3 separate regions of the Homo sapiens genome follow, and regions 1 and 3 are each linked to region 2. The links are contacts of gene promoters, found by promoter capture Hi-C in blood cells and fetal thymus (Javierre and others, 2016). All regions are on one chromosome and are shown on one strand. The core of a region is centred on a gene start or on the middle of the fragment in contact, and the rest is flanking DNA. Distances in the headings are between cores, read along the strand shown.

What was found. The method cuts DNA at HindIII sites, captures the fragments that hold promoters and counts their contacts. A CHiCAGO score of 5 or more calls a contact.
Region 1: a fragment that was not itself captured here is called in contact with the fragment with the promoter of ABCD3 in region 2 in 2 of 17 cell types (fetal thymus and monocytes); the score reaches 10.5 in fetal thymus.
Region 3: a fragment that was not itself captured here is called in contact with the fragment with the promoter of ABCD3 in region 2 in 1 of 17 cell types (monocytes); the score reaches 5.8 in monocytes.

What each region holds. Positions count from the first base shown.
Region 1 is chr1:94,075,792-94,078,491 of GRCh38, forward strand. It overlaps ABCA4 (ATP binding cassette subfamily A member 4), which reads right to left. Exons shown (of 50, transcript NM_000350.3): 11 at 1,899-2,096. All of the region lies in intron 1 of LOC124904222 (a long non-coding RNA gene), which reads left to right. Among named protein-coding and RNA genes, the nearest start is that of ABCA4, 44 kb to the right of the region's middle. The HindIII fragment of the contact is 702 bases long and covers 1,100-1,801 here.
Region 2 is chr1:94,417,107-94,419,806 of GRCh38, forward strand. It overlaps ABCD3 (ATP binding cassette subfamily D member 3), which reads left to right and starts at 1,283. Exons shown (of 23, transcript NM_002858.4): 1 at 1,283-1,482. The coding sequence starts at 1,373. RefSeq lists enhancers at 472-1,263, 1,735-1,874 and a silencer at 1,025-1,404. The HindIII fragment of the contact is 10,166 bases long and covers 1-2,700 here.
Region 3 is chr1:94,715,471-94,718,291 of GRCh38, forward strand. The region is part of intron 2 of SLC44A3-AS1 (SLC44A3 antisense RNA 1); the gene reads right to left. Among named protein-coding and RNA genes, the nearest start is that of MIR378G, 29 kb to the right of the region's middle. The HindIII fragment of the contact is 9,375 bases long and covers 1-2,821 here.

The sequences.
Region 1 (2,700 bases), core at 201-2,700, 340 kb before region 2:
GGAGTATGAGGTTGAGAATTTGAAAATGACTGACATGTGCTCCCTGATTCTAAATAACTCCAGTTTAGCTGCCCAGCCAGAGATGGACATGTCAACAGCCAACTCTAATCTATCTGGGAGAGGGGTCTGAGAGAGGTGTGAAGAGAGGGCCAGGAAGCACAGAGGAGTGAATGACTAAACCTCCATCAAAGCAGAAGTGACATTTAAGAGCTGAGTGCTGAGTCTCAAAGAATGAATGAGTAGAAGCTCAGCAGATGAGGAAAGGGACAGTCATTTCAGGCATTGGTGGACATACACTTTTCTACCTTGTGTTTCTTCTTTTGGGGAAACATCTTCCTCCACTTCACAGTAATCCTGCTCATAGAAATGGCCCCATGGTGGGCAGCTGACCCAGGCCTCCCAATCAGAGTACACAGGGGTGGGTACAGGAGCCAGACCAACAGGGAAACTCTCTAGGAGCATTGCTTCTGCTATGGGAAAGGGATTTTTGGTGTATAGATGACTGCTAAGGGCTGTAAGCAGCTAGGGCATCAGCAGAGGAGAGGGCCTGGCCAGAGATGAAGCTGAGCAGAGGCGAGTAGAAAAGTGAGGTGGAAGGACACAGGGGTCTCATGGTGGCTTCCAACTCTTGGATCCTCCTGAACTTCATTATTTATGTCCACCAATAAATGCTTTCTTTTTGGTTAAGCAAAAAGCTTGTGACCAAAAGCGCTCTAATAAATGGGCAATGAAAACAGCATTTGCAAAGGGTAGAATCCCAAGAGGTCATGGAATGGGAATGCCTGTAGGCGTGAAAGGGCCAGGTAGCAGAGTTGAGCAAGGGCTGGGAAGGTGGGGTAGGACAGATTTGGAAGGGACCTGTGTTATTTGGGGGTCGAGTCATTAAGATTTTAAGTGAGAGAGCAACGTAAGCAGGTGTGCGGAATGTAACTCTGGTGCCAGTGTAGAGAAATGCCTGGGCCAACAGAGGCTGGACCCTGGATTCCAGGAAGGAAGCCCTTGGAATGGGCTGGCGCAGAGATGACAAGGCCTCTAGTCCTCAGAGAGCCTGGAATGCAAGAGGCAGAGTTGAGAGATATTTAGGAGGGAGAGGAGACAAAGCTTGGTAAGAGAAATCAGAAAGGCAGGCTCTGAACTCAGGCACCCCCAGAGCTGGATCCTGTTCGCTCCTCTTAATGGTCATGCGTGGGATCTTATTTAACCTCTTTAAGCCCTGGCTTCTCATCTGCAAATTGGCAATGATAATGGTGCAAGCCTCATGGAGCTGTGAGAATTAAATGAAGCATATGTGTGTAAAAGCAGTTGGCACAGTACTTGGCATAAAGTAACACTCAGTAAGTGACAGCTACTGTGTGGAGGGTGAAGAAGGAAAATTAGGGATGACCCTGAAATCCCTCACTTGAGAATTCGGGCAAATGCTGAGGACGTTAATTAGGATAGGAAATATAGGAGAAGGATATGTTCTATGGGCAAGGAGAACATACAGTTTTTGGAGGGGACATGTTGAGGCTGATGTGCTTGTAGAACTTGAGGGCAGGAGTGTCCAGCAAGCAATGGACTGTGGGGTTGAGGGGACACTGGCCATAGATGGCCACTCAAGCAATGTCAGACAGAAGAGGGTTGAGGACAGACACAGATGCTTAAAGGGGGCTACAGGAGGAGGTGCCCAGCATGAGAAGTAGGAGATGTGAAGAGGAAACCGTTTTCAGCATAGATAAGTTTTAAGTATGGATAAGCTGTTAGAGAATGAGAACTGTACAGGGGATGTAGGGATTCTTGTTTCTTCAGTGGGGAAAATGAAAGCTTAAATTCAAGACCACTTGACTTGCTAAGGGAGCTCTGGCCCCACTCATGGGGCTATCTTCAAGGGGCCCACTGTGGGGCTTGCAGCCCCTTACCTCCAGGTATTGATTGACCAGGCGGAGGGTGCGATCAGTGATGTTAAATATGTCCCTCCAGTCGAAGTTGGCCATGTCGTCAGCCTGGCTTTCCCGAGGGCCCTTGTAGAGGAAGTTTAGGATGGCTTCAGCAGTAATACCTTCTTCACCAAGCTGCCTATTCAAAAAGTCTTTTACTGTTGGGTTCCCCAGGGTATCCTTGGGAAGAAGAAATACAGTCACTGCTCTGCTTAGAAATTCCATAGGATCTTTGGTCTTGTTCTTCAGCCATTTCTAATTTTTAGTGATTGAGGATAGAGATGCTAAGGCTCCCTGAAGAGCTGGTGAGCTTGTTCCACTATGAAACATACCTATCTATATCCCATTTCCCCAAGTCCATGGGTCTCTAGAATAGAGGGAAGATGTGTAGGGGCAAAGGAGGGGCCAGATGGGGGTCATTGAATATGGTGTATAAAAAGCTTTCTTTTGCTTATGGATATTTTTGTTTTCTTTTGAGTGTCCCTGATATATAGAACTCTTGTCTTCATTTTGCAAAGCTGAAAATGAGACCAGACAAACACATTCCACCATCTTTGGAGTTACAGAGCTGGCCCCTTGGGGAGATGCCTCTTTGAATTTGAGGCCCTTGAGTGAATTCATAAAAGTAGGAAACTCCAGGAAGCCACTGGTCTTGTGGCAGCTTTTAGACTTCTCCCAGAATTCAAGAAACATATTTCTCATCCAAAGTCAGTGACCCCACTTGGTGACTGCTTGGAATGAAGGCCTTTGGGGCCTGCTTGTTGTATTTTGATCTAACTCCAAT
Region 2 (2,700 bases), core at 33-2,532:
CGGTTTTCAGTTAACTTTCAGAGGGCCAAAACCTTTTGTCCCTCCAGGTAATGAAAATGTCCACATGACAAATAGTGAATTAGTAGGAGCTTCAGTTCTGCATAATTTAGAATTCACTGTTGAGCACCTCTATACGCATGCCATTATTGTACCTCGTCTTTGTGATCCTCATAACCTGTATTAGGCAACAGCTCATTTATATTGAGAAAACACCTAGGGCACAGCACCACTACTTTGTAGGCTACTTTAATATGTATGTGCATTATGCGAGGTTTTATGAGCTTATTTTCTGACACACTTGCTTTTCTCCAGTTTCCTCAGCTGAAAACAGCGATTCACTGTTACTGTATATATGCTAGGCTCAATGCTGGCGATAACAATTCCTGCAACATAGGGTCAGACAGGAGAAGAATGTTGTAATCTGCAAAGCCCTTCTGATTCTGGGAGTGAGGCCAGCATTAATACAACGCACGATTGTTACTTCTGAATGTCCCTTTGCAAAGAACAGTGTTTCTCAAACTTTTTTCTGACCAGATCTGCATACATTTTACATCGCCGCTGGCGATACATACGTGCAAAACACTGAAATCGAAATTTCTCTAAACAACTCCTTTACTACGTGATGTACTGTGAAACTTTTCTATTTTGTTCTATTCTCAATTTTATTAAAAACGGAGGGTGATGATCCCGATCTACCAAACCAATTTCACAATGCGCTAGAGATTATAACCCGCGGTTTGGAAAATACTGGCTTGGAAAAAGCTCTTTGATCTGTGTCATTCTCCTCACATCTCCCTACACCTCTGCGGAGTTCCGATTGTTTGGTTTCGTCCTGATAATCACTGTGCTGTGTTTTCCCTACACGCTCTGTGACGGGGCCGTCCGCCTCCTTCCTGGGCTCCTTTAAGAGGGTGGTAACGGTACATCACCGCGGGAGTGGAGAGGCAGGGCCCACTAGGTCGTCGCTGCAGGCCAGGCCCGCTCATCCAGTTATTGTGAAAGCCGGGGTGTGCGCGCGAAGAGTGGGAGGGTAGGGGTGAGGCAGGGGCAGCACTGACGCCTCGCAGGGCTGAGTAGCAACAGCTCCTCCGCGCCGCGTTTCCGGAGACCCTGAAGGAGTCCGCGCGTGCGCAGAGCGCGTCCCGGGAACTGTTCCGCCCACGGAGGCTGCCGAGCGCGCTCCCGCCGGGCCAAAGTACAAAGTGGGCTCCAGAGCGCGGGCGGCGCGGCGGCGCGAGCCAGGGGGCGGTCCTGCGCGGCCGGCCCCGCCCTCTGCTCTCCTCCCAGTCTCCCCCGCGCTGCGTGCAGTAAGGTAGCCGCCGCCGCCGCCGCCGCCGCGTCCCCTCGCCGGCTCGCTGGTACCGGCAGTGCCATGGCGGCCTTCAGCAAGTACTTGACGGCGCGAAACTCCTCGCTGGCTGGTGCCGCGTTCCTGCTGCTCTGCCTGCTCCACAAGCGGCGCCGCGCCCTCGGCCTGCACGGGTAAGAAGGCCCGTAGCCGTGCAGCTTTCCCGGGCTGGAGCGGGCGCTCCCCGCGCGCTCTCTCTCCCCACCCGGCCGACAGGTCTCTTTGCCCGACGGGGTCGGGCGGAGAGAGGGCCGACCGCGACTGCCGTGGGACTTCAATGTCAGGGTGTCCGCGAGTCCCCGCCACGACGGCGTCGGTCCCAGCTGGCCTGTCCGGCGACCTCGCTCCACCCCGGGAGTGCGAATTCTTCTGTGCCCGCGGGCGAACCGGCGCCCAGCCAGCACTCAGGCAGCGGCCTCCAGTTGGGGGTGGGAGGGGGATGCGGTGTGTCCCCCACCCCCTTCCCTACATCACCCCCTTCTGTGTCAACTTTCTGGGTGTGTTCTGGTTTTGCCATCTCATCTTCAGACCGTGAAGGATTTGTTTTGGGGACGTGGATGTGTGATTGAGGATGGGGATTGGATTCGCCAGGCTGGAGGCTGGTGTCTAAGTCACTTGGACGAGGTTTGGCTCGATTCCCGACTAACTGCTATTGAAAGTCGCGAGGGTGGCTTCTATGAAACTATTCCCGGTCCACTTGGCAGGATTGCCGTCTAAAGTGGTGAGCCCTTGGAGTCGGTGAACCCTTTGGTCGGTGAACATTTGGTCGGTGGCATTTCATCCGGAAAGGCTGGATCGGTTCTGTCGGACTTAGAGGGAAATGTTTTCCTTCCTGGGCTCTGTAGGTGAAAGATGAGAGTGTGGTTTAGGTGAGGATCAAGCTCCTTTTTAATGACACGCCACTGCTTCCACCGCGGGAGAATTTCAGTGCTTAGATTTAACTTTGGGAGGTTATCAGTTCAGAAAAAGTAAAAAAGAGAGAGCTGAATTACGGTTGCGACATACAGGTATGTATGTCACATACATGCAATTTTTATTTGCTGGACAAGTGAAAGAGAAAAGGCTACTTCCCAAGCGTTCTTGCCAGTCATTGAATATTTCGTATTAAATCTTGACATACTACTTTCATGAATTTTATTTCATTCATTCCTCTGAGCAGGTACTGTTGCCTCCCGTGTTTGATTTGCCTACAATATCTAATTAGTAGTAAAATTTGGGCTAAAACACAAATAGACTTCTAGTTTATAGTACCCTTTCCATTAAGTTCTTTCTAGCCGCCTTCTGTTTTTATCTTACTAGAGTCTGAAGTGATGATCTTTCTTTTCCTTCCTAAATCCATTTAACAGAGTTGA
Region 3 (2,821 bases), core at 103-2,602, 300 kb after region 2:
TGGTCTCTGGCTAAGGGATGCCCTAAAAAGATGGAAACTTCCTGGCATGTCTGGGCTCTGCACCTGTGGGCAAAGCAGTGTAGTAACCAGATGGCAGTCTTCCAAAGAGAGTCACGGGTATGGGGCTGTTTGAAGCAAAAGCACCAAAAAGCACTGGCGGAGTTCACAGAAACAGCAAAAATAGATCCAAAGGCCTCTGAGGGAGCAGGAACTGAGCCCACCCAAGACCACCCCTTGCATCACTCAGACCAGCTCACATCTTCCATTCTGTGAACTTCATTCCGCCACTGCGCCTTCAAGAGGGTGGACACTCACAGTTTCTGGGGGAAAACTTAACAAGATAAGAGTTAGTGAGACAAGATACATCTCTTCTCACACAAGTTTATGTAAACCATTCACACAAGTTTCTACAAAAGAATATTAATTGTGCCAGACACAGTGGCTCATGCCTGTAATTCCAGCACTTTGGGAGGCCGAGGAAGGCCGATCACCTTAGGTCAGGAGTTCGAGACCAGCCTAGCCAACGTAGTGAAACTCTGTCGCTACTAAAAATACAAAAATTAGCTGGGCGTGGTGGCACGCCCCTGTAATCCCAGCTACTCAGGAGGCTGAGGTGGGAGAATCGCTTGAATCTGGGAGGTGGAGGTTGCAGTGAGCCAAGATCACACCACTGCACTTCAGCCTGGGTGGCAGAGTGAGACTCCATTTCAAAAAAAAAAGAATATAAAGAATATTAATTGCAACATTAATAATAGCTAAAATGCAAATAAGTCAAACTTATTTGATCTCTAGGGATCAAACTTAGATCTCTAGGGATTTGCTTTTTTCTTTTAACAATTGCATAATATTCTATGGTATGGCTGCATACCATGATTTATTCAACTAAGCCACTGATTTATTATTATTCATTTAACCAAGCCACTACTGATGAAAGTTTGACTTACTTGCATTTGAGCTATTATTAACAATGTTGCAATTAATATTCTTTTACATAAATTTGTGTGAGTGGTTAACATAAACCTTTGCAGTGGTCCCTTGGCTGTGGCTGATATTCATCATCTCCCTGCTCTGCCACTCTTTCTAGAATCCCTCCACTCCCAGCAAGTACTTCTGGCGGTGTAGGTGGCTTGCTTGATGAGGTGATGCAGACTTTTAGCCCTAAAGGGTTTATCTCCCACACTCTAAAAAACATGAATCCTAACAGGTATCCAGAGTTGTCGCCCCTTCCATCTTAACAGGTTCAGTCAACATAAAGTCACCAATATGGTGGACAAAGTACACTGTACTTTCAGTTTCCTAAGAAAGGAAAAAGATGAAATTCCATTAGCCATAGTCAAATGAGCACGCCATCAATACCAAGAAAAACTGTAAACTCGTATTAATTAACCTGTTGTGATTTGGTTAAAAAGAAACCATTAACCAACAGGAGCCAGAGAGGGTTCTCTAAGAACAAGTCAGGCCTAGGGCACATTGAGGATGAGCAAAAGAGAAATTGTAAATCAGTTTATTTTGGTCTTGGTAACAAGTGAAAAAGAATGGTTGAGAGAAATGTAGGTGGAAGAGATAAAAAGGAATGGATAAAGTGTCTATTATTTGTAGATTCCTTTTATACAAACAATTCTTTTCCACTGATAGTTGAAAACTGAGCGTAGTTTTTTCCTGTCTGCTGGGTGGAAATAGATTGTGAAATGTTGTCTTGTGGTTTCTAAAGAGTAAGTAGAAAACTGCATTAAAAATGCAGCACTAATCCATGCGATGTGAGACCTGCCATCAGGAGCTAAACCACCAAGCCAAGGTCCCTCAGAAATTACCTGTGTGGCAGCCAGTTTCTCACATGCTAGCAGAGGAAAGTCTCTCAAATTGCCCTTTAATAAGCAAGAAGAAAAACTGTCTCCCAGATTGGCAGTATTTATTGTTTTTGCTATTACTATAAATATAATATCTGCTTGTAAAATCTCCAAAATATGAAGTAGAATGTGGAAGTCCCTAATAAGTCTAACTTGATCCAGTGACAATATGGTGATAAAACTGTTAGTGGTCTGATATATATATATACATTTTTTCACCTCTTTTGTAGAATAAAAGAATGAAAGGAAGGATGGATGAGCAGATGGATAAAATGCTTTACAATCTGCCTCTTTCACTTAATATATTGCGGACATCTTTCCTTGTAAAAACATAAATCTCTTGGGATTTGCTTTTTTTTCTTTTAACAATTGCATAATATTCCATCATATGGCTGCACCATGATTTTTTTTAACCAAACCAATACTGATGAAAGTTCAAATTATTTGCATTTTAACTATTTTGACAGTGTTGCAATTAATATATATATATATTTTGAGACAGACTTTCACTCTTGTTGTCCAGGCTGGGGTGCAATGGCGTGATCTCGGCTCACTGCAACCACCTCTGCCTCCCAAGTAGCTGGGATTACAGGCATCCACCACCATGCCCGGCTAATTTTGTTATTTTTCGTAGAGACAGCATTTCTCCATGTTGGTCAGGCTGGTCTCGAACTCCCGCCCTCAGGTGATCCGCCCGCCTTGGCCTCCCAAAGTGCTGGCATGAGCCACCGTGCCTGGCCTGCAATTAATATTCTTTTACATAAACGTGGTGTCTTTATCTGATTATTCCTGTAGGACAAATCTCTGCAAGTTCCAGGAATTGCTGGGTCAGAGATCAACCAAATTCTAAATTTGGAATTATTATTGCTTAATGGCCCTCAAAAGGGTCTACAAATTTACACTCTCACCAATGGTACATCAGAGTACCTGTTTCGCCACAACCTGCAGCTTTTATTGTTTACATGGGAGACAAG